2 separate regions of the Homo sapiens genome follow, and region 2 is linked to region 1. Evidence: promoter capture Hi-C in human tissues and cell types (Jung and others, 2019). All regions are on one chromosome and are shown on one strand. The core of a region is centred on a gene start or on the middle of the fragment in contact, and the rest is flanking DNA. Distances in the headings are between cores, read along the strand shown.

Region 1 (2,820 bases), core at 73-2,572:
TAAATACATGTTTCCATCTGAATATTTTGCAGGCGCAAGGTAAACAGACTCGTTCGCTCCAGGCTGGGTGACAGAGCCTCGCGCGGAAGGTTGAGGCGGTGCGGGGGCGGGGGGGGGTCCCCTTCCCTCTCTCCTCCGGGTCGGAGCCAAGCCGGCCCCTCCTCCCCTCCTCGCCCCTGCCTGGAGACCTCACTTGGCCCGGCCTCCGCCAACCCACCACGCCGCTTCCCGGTTCGGACGCAGCCGCTGTTCTGGTGACTCGGGTGCTGCCGCCGGCCCTTCTCAAGCCGCCCAGGCTTTTGGGGGGCAGTTACCCACCCCGCTGTCCGTGAGGGGCCGAGCCCCAGAACCCCCACCCCTCCACTCTTCCCCAGCAGGCGAGCGCGAAGCGGGCCCGCGGCAAGGGGACGATATCTCGCCACCTGGAACAAAGGCGTCCCGGCGCGCCCAGAGCCTGGGGTCCGGATGGCAGATCCGGGAGCGACGCCGGGTCTTTACCTGAACTCGGGACTCGACCAGGTCTAGGCGCAGCGCCAGCGCCTCGCGCATGAACACGTCGGGATAGTGGCTCTCGTTGAACGCCTTCTCCAGCTCCTCCAGCTGCCAGCCGGTGAAGTTGGTGCGGGTGCGCCGCCGCTTGCAGCCCGGGCTCTCCTTGTCCGGGTCCCCCGAGTCTGCGGGCAGTCACAGGACGCAGCGCGGCTCAGCCACCGGCCCAGGCCCGACCCCCACCCCTCCCTCCCGCTACCCGCTGGCCGCCTGGATCCGGGGGGGGGGGCGCAGAGACGGCCGCCTAGGAGCCGGCTCTCCTTCGCCAGCCCCGGGCCCCCCAGCGCCTCGGCCGGACCAGGGCCCCCGCCCCCAGCCGCACTCCTCCCCGCCCTCCCGCCCGCCGCGCCTACCTGACAGCTTGAAGGGCTGGCCGTCCCCGCCGACCCCGCAGGCGGCTGGCAGCAGCGGCGTGGGGTTGACCACCGAGGCGGCGGCGGCGCACGAGCCCCCGAGCAGGCCGTCGATGGAGAAGGGCACCGAGGCGGCGGCGGCGGCCGACTGCAGCTGGTGCCCGGCCAGCTCGTACACGTGGTGGTGGCCCAGCGGGTAGGGGAAGCCCACCACGCCGCCCAGCGAGCCCCCGAACTGGGCATGCGGGTGTTCCAGGAGGCGGCCGTCCATCATCTCGCGCGGGGGGCCGGCGGGGCCGGTGGCGGGGCGCGGGGGCGCGGGCCGGGGCCGGGGCGGGCCAGCGGCGGGAGGCGCGGGCGGCGGCGGCGGAGACAGGGACCCGGAGCCCCACACATGCTTCGCCCGCACTCCGGCGCTTTACTTATCAACATCAAGCTCCCGATAATTAGCCGCGGCCCGGGGAATTTGGGACCAATAAGAAGCGCTAATCGGCTCTGACGTCAGAGGCGTGCTGGGTGCAGGGAAACGTTTTCCATATCGATTGCTAATTATACCTGACATGCACCTCAATAAACAGTATCAGGAACTGTCACAACAAGACGGGCTGGGGGCGGGGGGAGCCGGAGGGAGGGAGGGAGGGAGGGAGGGGCCGCCCAGGGCCGGGCAGGCGCGGGCTGGTGCCTGGGCCCGGGGCAGGGGCCCCCAGCTAGCCCCCCACTTCACTCGGGGCCGGCCCCGAGCCCGCGCCTCCCGCCAGCCGCCGCCTCCCCGCCCCTCCGCAAATCACTAATAGATTTCCCTTTAAAACATTCAGCGCCGTGTTGTGGGGATTTTTCACCAGAAATGCTGTACTCTCTGAACCTTTAAAGTGATGTTGCTCCAATTACAGAGAGACATTGAGCGGCAAATAGACTGATCCAATAATAGGAGATTCATCATCCGCTTTTCCGAAACTGTCACATTGAATTTAAAACTACAAGGCTTCTCATCTCCTCCTCTCCGGCTGCAGGCGGCGGGAGAGGAGGAAGGAGGAGGAGGAGGAGGAGGAGGGCGATCCCGAAAGAGAAGAACTACAGAATGTAGCACCCTGTCAATAAAGAGGCGTAACTAATGCCCTCTCTGATTGACTGGCAGTCGCCCTATCTACAAAGACAGAGGTGGGGGGGGCTGCGGAGGCTCCCCGACCCCCATCCCCATAAAGCCCGGGCGCAGAGGAGGAGAGAGGGATGGGGACAGGAGGGGAAAAGTAACTTTGGGGTGGGGCCGATCCGCCCCCACCCCCTTACACGCTCGAATAAAGATAAATACATCCGCTCTGACTCGGCCTCTGAAGGATGGGGCTGAAGCACCCAACCCATTTATTATAATTAAATTATGTTCTCAGAGAAGTGTCACTCCCTTCTCTGCTATAAAATATTGATAGACTCAAAGCTAAATCACTAAAGGATATATTCTTAAATAAGCAGCAAATCAGGATTGTGGGCAGCAAGGAAAGAAATGAGGGGATGTCGGTCCATCTCTCTCCTTTGTAAAAAAGTTTGTCAGTGGGGTGGTCGCATTTGGCTGCGGGACCCCAGTGCTGGACTAGTTGGGTTAGGGCCACCTCTCCAGCAGTGAGTGCCCCGAGCCTCGGCCAGCCCAGGGCGGGGAAGAGAGGAGGAGAGCTCCGGCCTGGGCTGGGCCAGTCTGCGGAGCCACCACCACCCCAGGGCAAAGTGACAGACCAGTTGGCTTTGGGTGTAAGTAAGTGACTTGGGCCAGGCCTCCAAGCCCTAGCCCGCGTGAGAGGGAAGGGCAGGCCGGGACCGTGCGCATCTCTGCGTCCCTCCGGGTCAGGTGCCCGTGCCTGGGCCGGGGAGGGTGGGGGGTGCCGGAAACGCTCAGGAGGGGAATGCTTGGGTTGGCGGGCGCAAGGCC
Region 2 (3,099 bases), core at 325-2,824, 100 kb before region 1:
CTGCAGAGGCTTCCTCTCAAGTGTTCAACTCATCAGTGCATGAATGTGGGGGAATTGTCCAAGGCCTGGGGAAGAAGCATCCAAATGGATTAGAGACCAATGCCCAGTGCTGACTCAGGGCTGGGAGATGTGTTCTCCCCAGCCAGACTCATGATGGAAAAACTCATTGTTTGCAGGTCCCTAGGAAGAATGTTCAGGAAGGTGTTGCCTCAGTCGTGAGGAATAATTAGCACCAGACTGCTCCAGATGCACTAAACTGACAACAACAGCAAGACTGGAAAAGATCACACTGTTTCTTTCTTTCTTTCTTTTTTAGACTGAGTCTCGCTCTGTCACCAGGCTGGAATGCAATGGCACCATCTTGACTCACTGCAACCTCCAACTCCCTGGTTCAAGTGATTCTCCTGCCTCAGCCTCCCGAGTAGCTGCGATTACAGGCATGCACCACCACGCCCAGCTGATTTTTGTATTTTTAGTAGAGACAGGGTTTCACCATGTTGGCCAGTAAGATCTCGATCTCCTGACCTCGTGATCCGCCCACCTCAGCCTCCCAAACTGTGGGGATTGCAGGCGTGAGCCACCACACCCAGCCTTTTTTTTTTTTTTTTTTTTTGAGATGGAGTCTCTGTCACCCAGGCTGGAGTGCAATGGCACCATCTTGACTCACTGTAACCTCCGCCTCCCAAGTTCAAGCAATTCTCCTGCCTCAACCTCCTGAGTAGCTGGGATCACAGGTACCCGCCATCATGCCCAGCTAATTTTTATATTTTTATAGAGATGGGGTTTCACCATGTTGGCCAGGCTGGTCTAGAACTCCTGACCTCAGGTGATCCACCCACCTCTGCCTCCTAAAGTGCTGGGATTACAGACATGAGCCACCATGCCCGGCCAGATCACACTGTTTCTAAGTAACCTGACTACATCCCAAAATACAGCCTCAGGTATATTTATAGGAATACAAAAATATCAAGCAACCAGTGAGGCAAAGTTCACAATGTCTAGCATCCAATCAAAGATTATCAGGCATTAACAGAAACTGAAAAACATGACCCACAATAAGGAGAATAATTGATCAATGGAAACTGACCCAAGAACTGACACAGATGTTAGAATGAGCAGACAGGCTTCACTATATGTTCAAAAAGTGAAGTAGAAACATGGAAGATGTAGGCTGGATGAGGTGGTTCACACCCATTACCCCAGCACTTTGGGAGGCTGAGGTGGGAGGATTGCTTGGGGCTAAGAGTTCAAGACCAGCCTGGCCAACATAGCAAGACCCTGTCTCTACAAAATCTTTAAAAATTAGCTGGAAATGGGGGTGCATTCCTGTAGTCCCAGGTACTTGGGAGGCTGATGCAGGAGGATCACTTGAGTTCAGGAGTTTGAGGCTACAGTGAGTTATTGTCATGCTATTGCACTCCAGCCTGGGTAACAGAGAGAGACGAAAGAAAGGAAAGAAAGAGAGAAAGAGAGAGAGGAGAGAAAGAAAAGAAAGGAGAAAGAGAGAGAAGAGAGAAAGAAAAAGAAGAAAGAAAGAAAGAAAGGAAAGAGAGAGGAAAGAAAGAAAGAAGGAGAGAGAGGAGGGAGGGAGGGAAGGGAGGGAGGGAGGAAAGAAGGAAAGGAGGGAGGGAGGGAAAAGAAAGAGAAGTGAAGGAGAAAGAAAGGAAGAAAAGAAACATAGAAGATATAAAAGAGAGAGGAAAGAAAGAAAGAAAGAAAGAAAGAAGGAGGGAGAGGAGGGAGGGAGGGGAGGGAGGAAAGGAGGGAGGGAGGGAAAAGAAGAGAGAGAGAAAGAAGTGAAGGAGAAAGAAAGGAAGAAAAGAAACATAGAAGATATAAAAATGACCAAATTGAACTTATAGTTGTGCCAACTACAATGTCTTAGATTTAAAAATACACTAGATGGCAATGATAGAAGATCAGACATGTCAGAAGAAGCTATTCAGAATGAAGAATAAATCATTTTATTTTAATTACAAACATCAGCAAGTTGTGGGACAGCTTCAAGCAGCCTAATGTGTAGGTAATTGGAGTTCCTGAAGGAGAGGGGAGAGAAAAAAATATTTTGAAGAGCTAATGGCTGAAAATTTACCAAATGTGATCAAAGTTATAAACTCATGGATAAAAAGTCTGACATACCCCAAGTTTAAGAAATATGATGAAAAGTACATGCAGGTATATCATTATGAAATTACTTAAAGGAAGCTTTTTTTTTTTTTTGAGATGGGGTCTTGCTCTGTCACCCAGGCTGGAGTGCACTCGTGCAATCACAGCTCACTGCAGATTCTGCCTGCTGAGCTCAAGGGATCCTCCCACCTCAGCCTCCTGAGTAGCTGAGACTACAGGTGTGCACCACCAAACCCAGCTAATTTTTTAGATTTTTTGTAAAGATGAGGTTTCACCATGTTGGTCAGGCTGGTCTCGAACTCCTGACCTCAGGTGATCCACCCACCTTGGCCTCCCAAAGTGTTGGGATTACAGGTATGAGCTACTGTGCCCAGCCAAGAAAAATCTTAAAAGCAAAGAAAAGACACATAGAGATAAAACACACAGAAAGTTAAAAATAAGAATGACAGCAGGTTTTTTTTCAGTGGAAATATTAAAGCCAGACACCGGAGCAACATCTTGAAAGTACTGAAAACCCTTCCAACCTAGAATTCTATACCCAGCAAAACTATTTTTCAGAACTGACAATGAAATAAAGATATTTTCATGAGTTTCAAGTCAAGGCTAAGTGGAAAAATTTTTAAAAATAAAAAACATTTTCAGACAAACAACAGCTGAAATAACTCATCAGCAGCACACGTGTACTACGAGAAACATTAAAGGAAGTCCTTCAAGCTGATAGAAATGTGAATTTACACAAGGAATGAGAGGCACTGGGAATGGTGAGTACATAGGAAAATACATGATTTTTCTGTTATTTTTTAAATGTCTTACAATGATAATTGACTGTTTAAACAAAAATAACAATGTCAGGTTTATAACACATGCATAAGTAAAGTGAATACCGACAATAGCACAAACCCCATGACGGGAGATATTGAAGTATTTGTACAACAGCAATTCCACAAAAACTGTCCAAGGGATTCATTCTAT

What was found. The method cuts DNA at HindIII sites, captures the fragments that hold promoters and counts their contacts. A contact is called where the count stands out against the background at its distance.
Region 2: a contact is called between a fragment that was not itself captured here and the fragment with the promoter of UNCX in region 1, in 2 of the 25 tissues and cell types used here (IMR-90 fibroblasts and bladder).

What each region holds. Positions count from the first base shown.
Region 1 is chr7:1,231,374-1,234,193 of GRCh38, reverse strand. It overlaps UNCX (UNC homeobox), which reads right to left and starts at 1,322. Exons shown (of 3, transcript NM_001080461.3): 1 at 903-1,322; 2 at 499-674. The coding sequence starts at 1,176. RefSeq lists an enhancer at 1-317. The HindIII fragment of the contact is 11,886 bases long and covers 1-2,820 here.
Region 2 is chr7:1,336,252-1,339,350 of GRCh38, reverse strand. No RefSeq gene overlaps it. Among named protein-coding and RNA genes, the nearest start is that of UNCX, 100 kb to the right of the region's middle. The HindIII fragment of the contact is 5,963 bases long and covers 1-3,099 here.